5 separate regions of the Homo sapiens genome follow, and all the other regions are linked to region 5. The links are contacts of gene promoters, found by promoter capture Hi-C in blood cells and fetal thymus (Javierre and others, 2016). All regions are on one chromosome and are shown on one strand. The core of a region is centred on a gene start or on the middle of the fragment in contact, and the rest is flanking DNA. Distances in the headings are between cores, read along the strand shown. Region 1 holds the start of MIR1231 (microRNA 1231). Region 2 holds the start of TIMM17A (translocase of inner mitochondrial membrane 17A). Region 3 overlaps NAV1 (neuron navigator 1). Region 4 overlaps IPO9 (importin 9). Region 5 holds the start of CSRP1 (cysteine and glycine rich protein 1).

Region 1 (3,379 bases), core at 140-2,639, 300 kb before region 5:
TAAATGTAACAGTATTTGTTCATTCCCACTGTGGCTCTCCCTGAAGTTCCTTACCCCTTTGATGATGTGCTGCGGGGGCATCCTCACCACCACCCGGAGGGTCACTTCCTCCTTTGGACCACAAGTACTGATGCCATCCATGGGTGACAGGTCTGTGGGGATTGAAAAGAACCAACTGGTTTTAGGAGTACCCGCAGCCTTTCCTAAACTTTCCCATCATTATCCTTTCCAAAATAACTCTGTTTGCCACAGAGAAGGAATGGAGGTCCCAAACTCAAAAGTAGTTAAGGTTGAAGGACCATTACAACTCAGTGTCTTAGGACACTGGCATCTGCTTGGCTTCGGCATTGTTACCGCCCTGACCAAAGCAAGTGGAATGGTGTAACAGTGAAATAAGCCCTTTTCTTCCCTTCACCCTTATAGATTCTTCTCCCACACAGGTACCTGTGTCTGCAAGACTGGGGCCGAAGGAATGGGTGAGTGCCAGGCCTAGGGAGCGGCGTGGGGAAGATAATGCAGATGATCCAGGGACCTGCCCTGGAGTGGAGCCTGATGAGGGGCCTGGGGCTACCTTCAGTCGGTCATTCTCTGCTTTCAGCAGGTCCACCTCCAACTGTGGCAAGAACAGACAGGGTAGGGTGGCAGACTGGACAGACAGCAAGCCTTGGTCTTCCCTTTCCTGCAGCTGTCCGCCCAGACACTGACCTGCATGTTGTGCATGGTCTCCCGAAGCTGATCCAGTTGGTGGGCAGAGTTGAGGGCCTCCAAGCGGATGTCTGTAAGCTTCATTTCCTTCTCCCATAGCTCAGAGCGCAGCTCCGATACCTCCTTCTTCTCTGGCTCCTCCTCCTCATTTGCATGGAACAGCCTAGTGTGGGGGGCTGGGTGAGCAGGGCCCCTGTAAGATAGCAAGAGTCAAGCCAGGCTACATGAAGAAGCACTAGAGTTACTAGAGAATATTGAGAGGCATGGTTGGTGGTCTTGGCTTCTCCTGCCCATTGATATTCAATCAGCATGAGAAGAAAGGTCCATCTGTTGGTCTCATATGCCCAGGGAGAGGTCAGTAATAAGTACTGCTTGTCTAAGGTCTAATGGCCTCCTGTCAACTCTAGCCCACAGCTTACACTGGTAACAGGCTGGGTGGCAGGGAGCCAAAGAGCACTTACTCGGTGACATCAGTGCCCACGGAGGACGAGGTGGAGGACTTGATGGAGGGTGAAGCAGTCTCTGTAGAACCATGCTGTAGTTTGGGGGATGAGGGGGCTGAAGAGTCGGGTGTAGCAATCTCCTCTATATCCGAGTATGAGGAAGCTGACTTGGGCCCCTTTTTTATACTGAACGCTTTGTTGAAGGAACTTCGAAGCTAGAAAAAAGCAGATCCAGGTAGAGGGACATTAGGACTCCACTACTGGGATGGGGGAGGACTGGATTGAGACTTCTGAGACAGAGAGAGCTGGAGGCGGGGGATTTACTTTAATTAAGCCACCCTCTATAACACTTCACTTGATTCATAGAATACGGACAGAAGAGTTGCCTAGAAATTAGGACCGTGGAGGCAGAGGTTGCAGTGAGCTGAGATCGAGCCACTGCACTCCAGCCTGGCAACAGAGTGAGACTCCATCTCAAAAGAAAGAAAGAAAGAAAGGAAATTAGGACCAAGAGAAAGAACAGAATCTTCTAGCTTGCTGATGTTGTAGGCTATGGGAACTTCCTGGGTGTTCTCTTGCTCATAGGGGGAATTGTGCCCCTGATGGGGACAGAGAGAAGGTCCCAGAGGTCACATGGTATACAGCTCAGTGATCCAATCCCACCTTCTGCAGCAGAACAATAACCGCTCAGTCTAGAACCTGGCTCACTGTGGGCCTCAGAGGCCACCTCATGATGCCTCTGACTAGGGCTCATCAGCCCAGAATCTGTTCATCTAGTCATCTGTCAACCAGAAACTGACAATATGATTCTGTGGAGAACACGAGAAGGCAGTGGGCTCAAGCTTCTTTTAGTATTTCTTGTGCCCAGGACATCACAGAATGGTTAAAACAGCCAGACAGCATTTTCTATGATTTCCAATGTCCTAGAAGAAGGGCTATTTCCCAGCATTTCTTTAGAGTACTTGGGGCATTATAATCTGACCATAGCTTGTTTGATCTTGGTGTTGATGAGCTTGGGTGTTAGGGATGTGAGCTAGAGATGCAAACCAGGGTCCTGTCCCATACCCATCCACATGCATCCATACAGCATGCACACACCACACACCACACACACACATACACACACACACACAGGGACACAGATATGAAATGGCAGCAAGAGGCAGAGAGTAAAGGAGGGGTCAAAGGTTATAGGGGACAAAGGCAAACCAGATCTTTGGGACGGTGAGAAAAAAGAAGGAAAAATTTGAGGGTACGCTTTCTAAGCGTCTCTCCTGGAACATAGGAAGGCCGTCAGGTGATGGATGGAGCTGGTGGGTGGTGCATCTTGGGGTTTCCACCAGGCAAGATGTAAAGGAGGACCAACTTGGCTGTGGTGGAGACATGAATGAGTGAGTATGTGTGCAGCTGGCTGGCTCCAGGTGACTTCTTATCACTGAGCAGTCAGGGCTCAAAAGTACCATAAAGCTCATTTCTCTGTAGAGATGAAGAACCAAGCCTGAAAAGGCCAGAGAGTTGACTTGCTTGAAATTGCATAATTGACGTAAGACTTAGGACTAGAACTCAGGCTTCCTAATTTTCAATCCAGTGAAGTTTTCTCCATAGCACTGCCTCATGGGATGCTGTGTGTGTGTGTGTAAAGAGATCCTATGACAAGCTGCCTGAAGCATATGCCCCTAAGATCAATAAGATCCTAAGTGAGAATATGTGTAGTTCAGTATTCCCAAAGCCAGAACTGTTCCGAGATGTTTGGTGTTATGTGGCTAGTGGTTCCATGGTTAAATGAGTTTAGGGAACAATGGATTAAGCAAAATGAAACAAGATTATTTGCTGGGGGATATCTCACAACTTTTTCTGTGCAGATGTAGAAAATGCAGTACTTAGGCTGGGCGCAGTGGCTCATGCCTGTAATTCCTGCACTTTTGGAGGCGGAGGTGGGCGAATCAGCTGAGGTCAGGAGTTTGAGACTAGCCTGGCCGAGATGGTGAAACCGCGTCTCTACTAAAAATACAAAAATTAGTTGGACATGGTGGTGCATGCCTGTAATCCCAGCTACTCAGGAGGCTGAGGCAGGAGAATTGCTTGAACCCGCGAGGCCGAGGTTACAGTGAGCCAAGATCGCGTCACTGCATTCCAGCCTGGGTGACACAGTGAGACTCTACCTCAAAAAAAAAAAAAGAGAGAGAGAGAGAAAATGCAGTACTTCTCAAATTTATTTGACGATGGTATCA
Region 2 (3,135 bases), core at 423-2,922, 450 kb before region 5:
CACTGCAACCAATAAATATTTGGCCTATAAAATGACTTGAGGAAATGCTGTAATCAAACAGGGCAGTCAAAAAATCAAAGCAGTTTTGACTACAAAGATAACCAGGTAACTGATTATATTGTTTCAGGGCATACGTACTAAGAGAAAGCAAAGGGGCTACCTAATGATTTAGTAAATGAAAACCCATTATTTTTCTAAGTTGTTTTTTTTTTTTTTTTTGAGATGGAGTCTCACTCTGTCACCCAGGCTGGAGTGCAATGGCGCAATCTTGGCTCACTGCAACCTCCGTCTCCTGGGTTCAAGTGATTCTCCTGCCTCAGCCTCCCAAGTAGCTGGGACTACAGGCGCGTGCCACCACGCCCGGCTAATATTTGTATTTTTAGTAGAGACGGGGTTTCACCATACTGGCCAGGCTGGTCTTGAACTCCTGACCTCGTGATCCGCCTCGGCCTTCCAAAGTGCTGGGATTACAGGCGTGAGCCACCACACCCGGCCTTATTTTTCTAAGATCTTTAACTCAACATAGTTAAATATTTTAACTCTCTGCTAACCTGTGTCATTATAGTACATCAAACAGCTATTTACAGTGTGCTGAGTCCTACATATCTGAGCACAATCCAGAATGGAGGATAACTGCTTTGAAGAAGATAAGTTTGAAGAGCCAGGAGACCCTAAAACTTATATTTTGTATGCCATTTATGGGAGAGGGGAACATAAAACATGCAACAAGGCTAGGATACCAGAGTAGTAATTTAAGGTCCTGGGCACTTTCACAAATTGAGGACATCTTGGTTGTTGCTCTTACACAATAAAACAAATGATTAACCGAAATATCAAGATTTGATTTTTTACCTATGACCCTAGAAACTTTAAACTCTGGCAACCTGAGACTTCTGACAGCAATTACATCGTTTTATAATTATCTATGTGTCTGGTTTATTCATACTCAATAAACGCTGGATGTAACAATGAATTTCTGTCCATGGCTTTTCAGAGAACACATGCTATTACCTCTTCCTATTTCCCAGGTAATTTTTGTCCCCCTCTACCCTCAAGAAAGAATTCCAAGAAGGAAAACAAGGCCCCACGCAATAAAGAAGCTTATCCAGACCCCTTGGCTAAAATCTATGTTCCATTCATTTAAAATGCTTCACTCTGTGGACACATATCATGATACAAGTAAAACCTCAAGAATGACACTCCCTCAAATGCCTATTCTTCAGTTCCTCAACGCAGGAACTGAGCAAGGCGAGACGGAGGGACGCGCCCAAGGTCACCTCGACGAACAGGGGGGATTATAACTGGCCCCGCATAAAGTCGATTACGCCCTGCGTTGGGAGGAGGTTCCGAGGTTCTATCAAACTCAAGTCTGGACCTCCTTACCATCCATCACAAGGTCACACGGGTGCTGGGTTGGGAGAGGGAGGCTCACGCGGCCGGGGAGGTACTAAGTACAGGGCTAAGAAGCCGACTGGCCGCGAAAGACCGCATTGCCCAGTTACCAGGCCCAAGTCGACGAGGCTGCGGTTGAGTCTGGCTTGCACCTTGGGAGCCTGGACAAGGGAGAAGGAGGGCAGTGGGCAGGGGGGCAAGAGAAATGCAAAGACAGCGGTGAAGCTCACCAAGGCTCTCGCGCGTACTCCTCCATCTTGACTCCAATGCCGCGAGTGATGCCGGGCAAGCTGGGCGGAGCCTGACCCCAGAGGCGGAAGTGATCCCGAGAGGAGGGCGTTAAGGTCTATGAGCATTGGTTCACCATTTCCCGCTGCAGCCAATGGGAGCCAGGACTCCTGTGGCCAGCGTGTGGTCGGGGCATTGGCCGCGGCGTGGCGAGACTGGCCCTGCCCACGTCCTCAAAGGCCGCGAGTCCCGGCTGTGTGGGCGGGGGGCTACCAATGACGGAGTCACACTACCCGGTCACCAGAGGTTCCGTGGACTGAAATCAACGCGATACTGCCTAAATACGCTTCTTTCTTTCCCTTCCCTTCCGCCTTCCCTTCCCCCTTCCCTTCCCCCTTTCCTTTTCTTCTCTCCTTCCATCCTTTTTCTTTCTTTCTTTTTCTTTTCTTCTTCTTTTTTTTTTTGAGACAGAGTCTGGCTCTGTCGCCCAGGCTGGAGTGCAGCGGCGAGATCTCGGCTCACTGCAACCTCCGCCTCCCGAGTTCAAGCGATTCTCCTGCCTTAGCCTCCTGAGTAGCTGGGACTACAGGCGGGCGCCACCAGGTCCGGCTAATTTTTATGTTTTTTTAGTAGAGACGGGGTTTCGCCATGTTGATCAGGCTGGACTCGAACTCCTGACCTCGTGATCCGCCCACCTCGGCCTCCCAGAGTGCTAGAATTACAGGCGTGAGCCGCCGCACCCGGCCTCTTTCTTTCTCTTCTTTTCTTTTCTTTCCTTTCTCTCTCTTCTTTTTCTTTCTTTCTTTTTTGGTACTTTTGCTGTCAAATGTGGATTAATGCTATCTTATTCGTCACTTACTGTGAAGCTGTTACCAAATACACGTAGCTCCTTTAGGGCAAACAGTGTCTCAGTGATTTATAATAACCACAGTGCCTGGAATGTAGTAGATGCTCAATAAATGTTTGTGAACTGGAACTGTTTGGGCCATCTGGAGAGCCATGACCAATTTGGAGCCCTCGATTTCAGGGACATTGACACCAGAGCCTCTCACAGGCCTCTCCACTAATGATCACCAGAAGGTGTGAAGATGTTTGGCTCGGAGAAGAGGGGACTTATGGGGACCAGGCCGGGCGTGGTGACACGTGCCTGTAGCCCTGACTGTTCGGGAGACTGAGGCGGGAAGATAGCTTGAGCCCAGGAGATCTACCCCGCAGGGAGCTGTGATCATGCCACTGCACTCTAGTGACAGAGTGAGACACTGTCAAAAAAAAAAAAAAAAAAAGGTTGGGACCCATGGAGCTTTTAGTTTACTGTCAACAAAATCCCAATCATGTGATGGCTGTTAAAGTGCTCCTCTCCATTCTGTACGTTTGTAATTAACTTTAAAAATATGTATATATTTATTTTACGGAAAAGTCAATGTCATAAATAATGGAAGAGGCCGGGCGCAGTGGCACACGCCTGTAATCCCAGCACTTTGGGAGGCCGAGGCGGGCGGATCACGAGGTCAGGAG
Region 3 (3,228 bases), core at 237-2,736, 280 kb before region 5:
TGAAAACAATATTTAAGTGAGGAATATGCATTCTGATTATTCAGTAGAACCTATGGTGAGAACTAAAGCATGTCTGTAGCAGATGCCTCCTGGAATGACCATCTTGAAAATAATAATGGGAGAGCTAACCTGCCATAAGCCTGGTCTTCTAGCTCTGATCAGTACTAACACCCAGATCACCACCAACAATCAGATGGCCCTCCCTGATGCTCATCTTTGGAACATTTTTGAAAGAGAAATGAGATGCCTAATTATTTGTAAGGATTTATTAAGAGCTACTATTATGTCCTGTTTTCTTTTCATATATTTGAGAGACTGTGGGGAGGAAAGACTATGGCTAGAATGAGGAGGAGAGAAGCTGTGGTTTTCAGAGCATCCTGAGGGATGCCATTTAACCCTTCCATGCTCAATTTCCCTCCCCCAGCCCCAGTGATGGATGCTCCATCCCAATGCCCCAGTGCTAGATGTGCCACCCAAGGTTTCTGGGTCCCCAGACCCTTCAAAGGGATGGGGAGAAAAAACTGAAATGGCCCAACTTGATGTTCTGTGAATCATATATGTGTGTGGTGGTAGGAGTGGTGGGAGTGGAGGTGGTGGGTGAGGGGACCCAGCAGAGCTGGAATGAGCGTGAACCGCGCTAGCATGAAGTCTCACCATCGTCCGTGGGGTCTCGGAAGGATCCTGACCGAATCATTCCCTTGGGTCTCTCGGCCAGGGACAGGGTGCTCCCCATTTGGGAGCCGCTGTACAGCTCGAAGGCCGCCTCGTGGGTGGGGATGCTGTTGGAGCGGGTGATTCTTGGCGTGGTGGCCGCAGTGGGACTCACTGGAAGGACAGAGGGAAGGGGGACAGGAGAGGGAGCAGGAGGGCAGGAAAAGAGGCAGGGTCATCAGCTCTCCGGGCCCTTGGGGGATGGAGCACCGGGAGCATGAGAGGCAAATGGGGAGAGGGCAGGAGAGGAAGGGGCAGGTGCGGTGGTGGGAGTGTGCAAGCAGCTGGTGGTTAGGAGCGGGGTCCCTCCTGGGGAGATCAAGCCCTAATGGAGAAGGACCCTGCTGTCTGGAATAAAGACCTTCCCTCAACCCTGCCTGCCTCAGAGTTGTTGCTTTTGAAGGTTAGGCTGGGGGCCTGGCAGCTTTTCTGAGACCTTCACATCACTCGGATGTGCTGATGAAAATGAGATGCTGTGGTTCTCTAAAACACAACTGCCAGCTCAGGAGGACTGAAAATTCAAACCAAGACCCAGATCTGAATGATGAAAAAGCACCAGCTAGAGAAGGGGGCTGGGCTACGGGATCCCGTTGCCCTGGCATTGTGGAAGGGCGTGAGAATCTCCCCACAAAGTAGTGTCACTCTGAGTGACTGGGTTGGCGCTAAAGCATCAAGAAACATGGCCCTCTTTGCCTAGCATTGCCCCGGCTTGAAGGTCAGATGGACAGAGCAGGTGAAAGTGTCAGGTAAGGCTTGTGGAATGTGCTTTGAAGCTGGGTTCAGCTGAATCCCGTTAACCTGCAGATGCCTTACCCCTTTGCCCATTGCTGGGATTACAGCCTTTCAGGGTTTCATACCCACAAGGAGCTCCCTTGTCTATTCTTCTGCCTCCATACAGGCAGGTGGATGTCTAATCTGTCCATAAAGACCTGTGCAGAAGAAGATGGCACACCTCTCTGTTGACCTTTTCAAATTCCTGAGGTAATTATTGCTTAGCCCAGCCCCTCATTCTGCAGCATAAATGCAATTCTTCTTATTTGGTCTTCAATGGAGATAGAGAACAAGCTGGCCCCATCCTCCATTTAGTAGCCCTTCAGAGGGCAGATGATCCTGTCTGAACAATGGTTCTTTTCCCTAGGCCAAGTGATCCCAATTCCTAGTCTTTCCTCAAATTCCCCACAGTCACTGCATGGGTGTGTTACAGGTCCTTGTCTTTTATTAACTGATTTCTTTTACTCAGCTGAAAGAAGAGATGGATTTAAAGAGATGCAGCAAGCAGATAACAGGCCTATCCCAGGCACTATTCCTGAATGGATTCCTAGTAGGCCAATCATGGCGTACTGCTTCACAGAACCGGAGCTGGTGTGCTTCTGTGCTAGGCCAGACCCTCCACCTGATGCTTCCTCTCCTCCCTGTCTCTAAGTCACTTCCTTATTTCCTAGCTCTCCTTTCTCCCTAGGCTTTAGGAAGGGGGTGGCCAGGACACATCTGAGTCAGCCCTGCCTTCAGCGTTAGGATGGCCTGGGCTCAGCCAGAGCAGTTGAGGAATCTGGACTTGGCTGAGTTTGGAGGCAGATCTCGTCCTTGGCAATCAACAACCTTTCCCTCCTTCCTCCCCGTCGGCCTGACATTTCAGTATTGCCCTCTCATTAGCTGGCCCTAGTAGTACTGGGTGTGGTGGCTCCTTTCCGGCAGTTCAATGTGCCTGCTCTTGCACTGGTCTGATCTCTGGGCTTTGGGTTACAGCTTTTCCATGCCACCATTCAGGCTCTCTGATGCTAAAAGGACCCTACAACTTGTGCCTAGGGGCAACTTTTCAGTTTAGGATCTCAAAGTACTCTACCTTCAATCTTACTTTGGGTGGATAAACTGAGGCACCATGAAACAACCCAATACAGCATGAGTCAAACATGAGATGAAACCCAAAGCCCACCTGCCTTGCCTCACCCTGCAGGGTGACCCCTGCTTCACCCCATGCCACAGTGAGTGACTGAAAACACTAACCTATGTTGGTAAGTTGGCCCTTTGCACTCAGAGACATGGGAAGTGCAGGGGGAGAAGGCAGCTCTGACTGGTCATCGGATTCAGGCAGCCCACCAATGGTATGGGAATGTCGCCTCTCCTTGGTCTCCTCCTGGGACTGAAGCTGGTACCTGTAGGAAGCAGCAGAAGAACTCAGTCTGGGACTAGCAAGTGCGGTCAGAGGTTTAGTTGGTGCGGAGGGTGTCTGAACTAGGCTGGAGCCAGGAGATTCTGAAAGCAGGACATGGAAAAGAGGGAGTGGTCAGGGCTGCCCAAGGAGGGAGTAAGAGGTGGCGACTCAGCCTCCTCTCCCAGACCATCCAGAGGGTGTGGAAGGACTAGCAGGTATTCCCGTAAGGGTTCCTGAGCTGGGGGCAGAAGTGATGGAGGAGGCATTAGAACTTCTCCTCAGAAGTTCAGGACAGAGACTTATGATTCCACATGTGGGCTTTCAAGTTGCAAGAGTCGGTCAGGCACAGTGGCTCATGCCTGTAA
Region 4 (3,207 bases), core at 453-2,952, 360 kb before region 5:
TGAGGCGACGACGGGATCTGAAGTGGATAAGGCAACACGGAATCCCCCTGCCTGATGGTCTGCATCTGCTTCTCGCTTAATGATGCCTGTTGTTTGGCCCTAACCTAAGTTAACAACTTCTGCATTGATTACTTATCACATACCCGGGACCTAGTGGGGCCACATGAATAACCTGAAAGAACAGGAGAGATCCTAAATCTGCAAGAGGTACACTTTGTATGGCTTCATTAAAGTAGGGACTAGTCATTAACAGCTACTCATAAAACAAAATGTGGCTTTTTCTAGAGAAAAATCTTTAAAGTCTTTATTCTTGTGAAACCTACGTTATAAAACCAAATGCTTAAAAAAAAAAAAAAAGCCCAACTGATACTTTAAGAAGACATGAAAGCTGCAAAAATTGCCAAAACACTGGCTTTGATGCATGAGAGAAATCATACATATCTCCTATGGGGTAGCCACGGTAGACATGAAGAACTCTCAAAGCTACTTCTGGGGCAAAAGGCAAAACTCCTAAAAAGCAGAGCCTTATGAAGAAAGGGAACTTTAGCTCAATCTTCTTTATCTATAGAACAAAACATCCTCCTCTATTTAGTATGGAAAAATATAGGCAATGTGCATTAAAGTATACCTTAAAAGATCACTGCAGCATTGTTTGTAATAGAAAAAAATTGGGAATACCCTAGATGTCCATTAACAGAATGGGTAAATTATGATATACCCATTTTATGGAACATTAGTAATGGCTGAAAAGAATGAGATATATCCAAGAACACAATGTGGAAAGCTCCTCAGTACACATTTTTCAGTGAAAAAGCTATCAAATAACATGTTCAGTATATCACATTATATAAATAATCCTTATCCTGTACATCTTTCTGAGCTTCAATATTGGAGCTCTCTCTTTAAAAAAAGAATCCTTAATATTTTACTAGTAATAAGGTATTAATAAATACATTCACTACAGGAAAAAAAAAACTTAAAATGCAGAAAAGTAATAATGAAAACACCTGTAATTCCACTACCTAAACACTCAACATTTTGATGTATTTTTTTTTAAAACATACCTATCTATACATACATGCTTTTCTAAAAGAAAAATCAAAACTTGGGATCATATTCTATGGATTTTTTGGGAAAAGTATCTTTTCATTTATTATAATGTAAGCTCTTTCCCATGGTTTCAGATATTCCTTTTAAGCTTGATTTTTAATGGCTGCACAGTATTTCATTTTATGGATATAATTAACTAATGTCTTTTTATAATTTCCAAATTTTTACTACTGTAAAAAATATCTAGTGAATACCTTTGTTTATAAACTTTTCCATATATCTTTCTTTAGTATCTCCTTTTCTAAATTATAGTCCTAGCCCTTTTCTTTTAGGAGGCTTTTCATTTGCCCAATTTCCTATTCTATCATCAAAGTTCTGAATTATGTCTCTTGCTTATTAGCCCTTTATTTATTATCTTTATCCCTAAGTCCTTACTAGAGAGTAAGTGTTACAGAAATAGGTACTCTATTTTTTAATGCTGCTACATTTACAGCACAATTCTATTTTTTGCTAATTGAAAGCCAGATTCTTTGCTTACGATGTTAAAACCATAGCTTCATAGCTAAGACCAGACCTAGGGAATCTTTCATTTAAATTCACCAGCCACCACCTTTTCTTTGGTGCCCCTCATAATACATCCTCCCTGGCAGCATACCATTACTGTACTTTAGGAAAATGGCGATGGTGAAGGGGCAGATTTTGCTTTCCATGCTTGCTGTGAATTCGGGGTCTACTGTACAAACGATGCACAGGGTCTCCATCACCAGGTTGAGGACCTCTGAGCTGAACTGGGCTGCTAGGTGAATTAAGCCATCAAGGATGCTGGGGAGGAAGGGCTGGAGCACGTGGGTACTCTCTGAGACTTTCAGTTGGTCACAATAACTAGAGAGAGATAGATAAGCAAGAATTATTAAAAAAAATTCAATTCCTGGTTTTCCCAATCAATCTCACATATTATAGCATTTGTATGTGTAGCTTTATAAAGCTAATTCTAAAGTTAGGTTTAAGTTTCTACTTCTTTCTGGATGTATTATATAAACATCAACACCACCATTTCTATGTTCTGTAATTTATTTCTTTGACTTTTGCTATTTTCTTTAAAAACTTCTGCTTTTTTTCTTGAGGTTTTTTTTTTTTGCATCCTGAAACAAGCTTAATTTATATAAACATTTTATGTTTCACTTTCAAAATCAGCCTATTAGCTGTAGGATTTAAAGTTCCCTCTATAGTTTTACTGTATTAGCCTCTTTTCAATCAACAAATATTTACTGAATGTTGCTTATCATGTCCAATATGATACAATTGTTAAAAATACATTGTCTAGGACCAGGCACGGTGGCTCACACCTGTGATCCCAGCACTTTGGGGGGCCAAGGCAGGTGGCCCAGTTGTTCTCTTCGAACTTGAGACAGAGGTACTTCAGAAGAAAGTCATATTATGTCAGGCAGTATAGGAAGCCACAGGATATATATATAATATTTTCGTGGGACATCAGTTTCCCCTGGAGACTTCAGGGTAAAGAGAAGATTAGGTGTTAGGAGTAACACAAGTTAAAGAAACACCGACTTCCAAAATAAAGTCCAACCTCTTTCAGCATGGCATTTAAGATCCAGCATGATGTAGATAGATGATGCAAACTCTGTAATCTACCATACGGTACAGTTTCAAGTTCATTAGAGGGGCAAAGTAACTATAAACCCTTAGAATAGAAGTGGGAAATGGAGCGAACTCCTGACCTCAGGTGATCCACTTGCCTTGGCCCCACAAAGTGCTGGGATCACAGGTGTGAGCCACCGTGTCTGGTCCTAGACAATGTATTTTTAACAACTGTATCATATTGGACATGATAAGCAACATTCAGTAAATATTTGTTGATTGAAATGAGGCGAATACAGTCTGACATAAATTTGAGTTGAAAAATGTGAAACAAGTATAATTATTTGTCAATCAGTATCTTGTTTCAGAGATTATTTAAGGGAGTTTGCAATGATACATAAACTATGACATGAAGGAATAAATTAAAACTGGGGCTAAAGAAAAAAAGAAAAGCAACGGTGGAATGCTGATCATTAAAAGGTTACTAGTGACATTAGAAAAGACAGCTGCAGGCCGGGCGCGGTGGCTCATGTCTGTAATCCCAGCACTTTGGGAGGTGGG
Region 5 (2,998 bases), core at 23-2,522:
CCTCAGCCTCTCGAGTAGCTTGGATTACAGGCACACACCACCACGCCTGGCTAATTTTTTTAATTTTTTTGTAGAAACAGGGTTTCACCAGGTCTCGAACTCCTGGGTTTAAGCAATCTGCCTGCCTCGGCCTCCCAAAGTGTTGGGATTACAGGCGTGAGCCACAGTGCCTGGCCAAATACTTCATTTTCTAGATCATAAGATGCTTAACTTTATTCCTGGCAAAAAGTTGATTCAGCAAACCAGGGCTTTAAGTGAAGCCGGTTGGGGCCTGAACCCTTGACACCTGCCCAGGGTGGAAGACATAGCAGCTGCATCTATGGGCCACCTGGGGTGTAGGGTGACCAGCTGGAGGCTGTGAGCTTCTCTGCTCCCTGAAATGCCTGCACGGGGCACTCAGGAAGGGCTGGGGACTGGGTGAGGAGGTGTGGACAGAATGTCCCCTGGAAACTGCCCCAGGGGCAGCTTGAGTGGCCTGAGCCTGTGTCTGTCCTACTGAAGGTTGGAGCCCCAGAGAAAAGCCTCTATGGAGGCACCCACTTTTCAGAACTGCTGCTTTTGCGGGAGAACACCTTTTTCCAGGTGTTGTCCTTAGGGTAGCAGGGAAGACTGGGAAAAACTGAGGGGCAAGAGCTGTTGGAGGGGGGAGTTACATTTATTGAGTGTCTATTACATGCCGGGTGCTGCTGAAGGTCTGCGGGTCCTACCGGATCTCCTTTTAGCCCCTCACATCCCTGTAGATTACACGCCGTTCACAGATGACCCTGAACCCAGAAGGGCTGTCTAGGCCCAGGGCCCAGCTAGTGAGTGGATGGGCAGAATCAGACCTGCCCTGGAAGGGTCTGTCTTACCCTGGCGCCCAAAATGTGTCCCTCACCCTCTGCCACCAGGACAAGTAAATTCGAGACACCCTTTCGTTAGGGGCTCAAGTTTATCATGGGTCTGACCTCTAAGGTCATATCTCCGCCTTCTCACCTGACAGACAGGAAACTCCTGAAATGCCCCTCGCACGTGCAAGACGTTTTCCGCGGTGGCGGCGACAGGGCGCACAGTGGGACCGCAGCACGAGCTCGGAGCACCCCCAGAGTCGGCGACTCCTGCCCCCGCCCCTGCCGGCCGGCCTTCCCGGGGCCTAGGAGGGCAGCACCGCCGGGCTTCGCGCCATGACATCAGCCCTGGAGTGGTGCAGTGTGCAAAGCCCACTGGTTGGCGTGGCCCGGGACACGCCTTCCGCGGAGCGGAACAAAACGGCGCGCAGGCCGGGCGCACCCAGCCGCCACTTCCGAGAGCGCCTGCCGCCCCTGCGCCGCCGAGCCAGCTGCCAGGTGAGTGCGCCCTGAGTCGCGCGGCTCTGCCCGCCGCGGAGGGGCGCCTGGGCACGCACTCAGCGCCTCCCGGTCTTGCCAGCCCCGCCGCAGCCCCGGGGCTGTCGCAGGCGGGGAACTGTGAGAAGTGACCGCAGTTAGCCCGGGCAGTGCTGCTCTTTTCTGGAGGCACTAGGTCCGTCCCCATCCCGGGCCTTCCTGGGCTTCCTGGACACAGTTGACTTCCGCGTGTGCGTGACCCAGGGCGACCCGGCTCCCCGCAACCGCCTGCAAGTCGGGCAGAACAATCGGCGATTCTGCGCGCCACTGACGCTCATTGTATGGCAGAGAGATGAGGGCATCCGTGCCACCCCCTCCCTCACCCTCCTGCTGGGGAGAAAATGCCCGCGGGCGGGGTGGGGCAAACATCTGGGCCTGACCTTGGACATCTGTGTCCCTGAGCGCAGGTGTGAGTTTTCCCTCTTGTGAAATAACTGCATGGAAACCTCTCCACTCCAAATCTTGGTGCTAGGTGGTGATGGTTACTGAAACCTGAAAGAGCCTGCAGTCAGTGTTTTGTGGCCTCAGTCCTTGAAAGCTGGGAAGTGATAAAGGGGCTGGTATTGAGCACATTTAAAGCAAATCACAATGTGTTAGCTAACAATCAGCCCTCTGAGGCAGGTATTGTATCTACTGGTACAGACTAGAGAATATTTTGCATGCTTCTGGTTCTGGTGCTGTTGTGAACTAACCAGGACCCAGGAATCGGCTGGAGCAATAGTGGGCTCAGGCTCTGCCTAGAGCCCTGGGCTCCAGCCACCCACCAGCTGCTCCCTGAGAGTGAATGAATGGGCAGGCTCTCCCCACGCTGGGATACTATCACAGTGGCACCGAGGAAATCCACTGGGCCCTGGTAGAAAGTATATCAGTATATCATGAAGAGGTGGCTTGGAGTCTTGGTGGGATTGTTTGGAAGGCAGAGTTTTGACTCTTGGATTTGCCACTTAACGCGCAGGTTTCCTTGGACAAACTATTTAACTTCTCAATGTCTCAGTTTCTTTCAGGGATGCTACTTGGGGAGCATATTACACAGAACCTCCAACACAGGAGTGATCTCTCAGTTACTGTCTTTCTTGTCCTCCCCTCATCCCTTGCCTTCCTCCCAGAAGCTAAGGAGGCTGGAGGTGCTGGTTGTCTCCCTCTGTCCTCTCAGACTGCATGTTGGGGATTTTCCCCAGGTGGGATTTGGGGATGGGTACTGAGCCTCCCCTCAACTGCTCTCACTCAACTGCTGCCTCCTGACTCTCCAGCTGGTTTCTGGCTACCTCTTTTGAGAGAGACTGTCCTCAGCCCTCAGCTGCTGGAGGGCAGCTTTTACCCATTGTTTCCTAAATCCAGCCTCCTCCTGCTCACGGTCTTCCAGTGAATGACTCTTTGCCTTGGAGAGGATATCCGGGGCGGAGGCAGTCAGACGAGGAAGGAAGTTTATCCTGCAGAGGGTGTAGTGTGGGTTAGAGGAGAGGGAGGAGAGAACTGTCTGCAAGGCCTGAGATGCCCAGGATGGAGGGTATGGGGAAGAAGAAGCAGGAGAGAAACTAAAGAGAAGGCCCATCAACTCTGCAATTGGCCTGCTAATAAAATGGGAAAAACAGGGGTGCTGTGGCCTATTTGCCTGTGGTCTGTCTTAGCACCTG

The links. Contacts are between HindIII fragments. The CHiCAGO score rates a contact against its expected background, and 5 or more counts as called.
Region 1: a fragment that was not itself captured here is called in contact with the fragment with the promoter of CSRP1 in region 5 in 4 of 17 cell types (monocytes, endothelial precursors, naive CD8 T cells and 1 more); the score reaches 5.9 in monocytes.
Region 2: a contact is called between the fragment with the promoter of TIMM17A here and the fragment with the promoter of CSRP1 in region 5, in 1 of 17 cell types (erythroblasts). The highest score is 5.1, in erythroblasts.
Region 3: a contact is called between a fragment that was not itself captured here and the fragment with the promoter of CSRP1 in region 5, in 4 of 17 cell types (monocytes, M1 macrophages, M0 macrophages and 1 more). The highest score is 8.2, in monocytes.
Region 4: a contact is called between a fragment that was not itself captured here and the fragment with the promoter of CSRP1 in region 5, in 3 of 17 cell types (M1 macrophages, erythroblasts and megakaryocytes). The highest score is 5.9, in M1 macrophages.

The regions. Positions count from the first base shown.
Region 1 is chr1:201,805,937-201,809,315 of GRCh38, reverse strand. NAV1 (neuron navigator 1) reads right to left here. Exons shown (of 34, transcript NM_001389617.1): 22 at 1,167-1,363; 23 at 706-898; 24 at 445-613; 25 at 55-152. All of the region lies in intron 2 of IPO9-AS1 (IPO9 antisense RNA 1), which reads left to right. MIR1231 (microRNA 1231) reads right to left here and starts at 705; the gene lies at 614-705. The HindIII fragment of the contact is 1,207 bases long and covers 786-1,992 here.
Region 2 is chr1:201,954,040-201,957,174 of GRCh38, reverse strand. It overlaps TIMM17A (translocase of inner mitochondrial membrane 17A), which reads right to left and starts at 1,672. Exons shown (of 6, transcript NM_006335.3): 1 at 1,623-1,672. The coding sequence starts at 1,648. RefSeq lists an enhancer at 1,394-1,683. The HindIII fragment of the contact is 2,275 bases long and covers 1,103-3,135 here.
Region 3 is chr1:201,786,065-201,789,292 of GRCh38, reverse strand. NAV1 (neuron navigator 1) reads right to left here. Exons shown (of 34, transcript NM_001389617.1): 13 at 2,716-2,864; 14 at 655-825. The region is part of intron 2 of IPO9-AS1 (IPO9 antisense RNA 1); the gene reads left to right. Among named protein-coding and RNA genes, the nearest start is that of MIR1231, 21 kb to the left of the region's middle. RefSeq lists an enhancer at 729-1,229. The HindIII fragment of the contact is 4,587 bases long and covers 1-3,228 here.
Region 4 is chr1:201,865,458-201,868,664 of GRCh38, reverse strand. It overlaps IPO9 (importin 9), which reads right to left. Exons shown (of 24, transcript NM_018085.5): 15 at 1,706-1,932; 16 at 1-17. Among named protein-coding and RNA genes, the nearest start is that of MIR6739, 3.7 kb to the right of the region's middle. RefSeq lists a silencer at 1-35. The HindIII fragment of the contact is 1,004 bases long and covers 1,201-2,204 here.
Region 5 is chr1:201,505,397-201,508,394 of GRCh38, reverse strand. CSRP1 (cysteine and glycine rich protein 1) reads left to right here and starts at 1,272. Exons shown (of 6, transcript NM_004078.3): 1 at 1,272-1,325. It overlaps CSRP1-AS1 (CSRP1 antisense RNA 1), which reads right to left and starts at 1,182. Exons shown (of 2, transcript NR_160747.1): 1 at 976-1,182. RefSeq lists a silencer at 941-1,570. The HindIII fragment of the contact is 16,293 bases long and covers 1-2,998 here.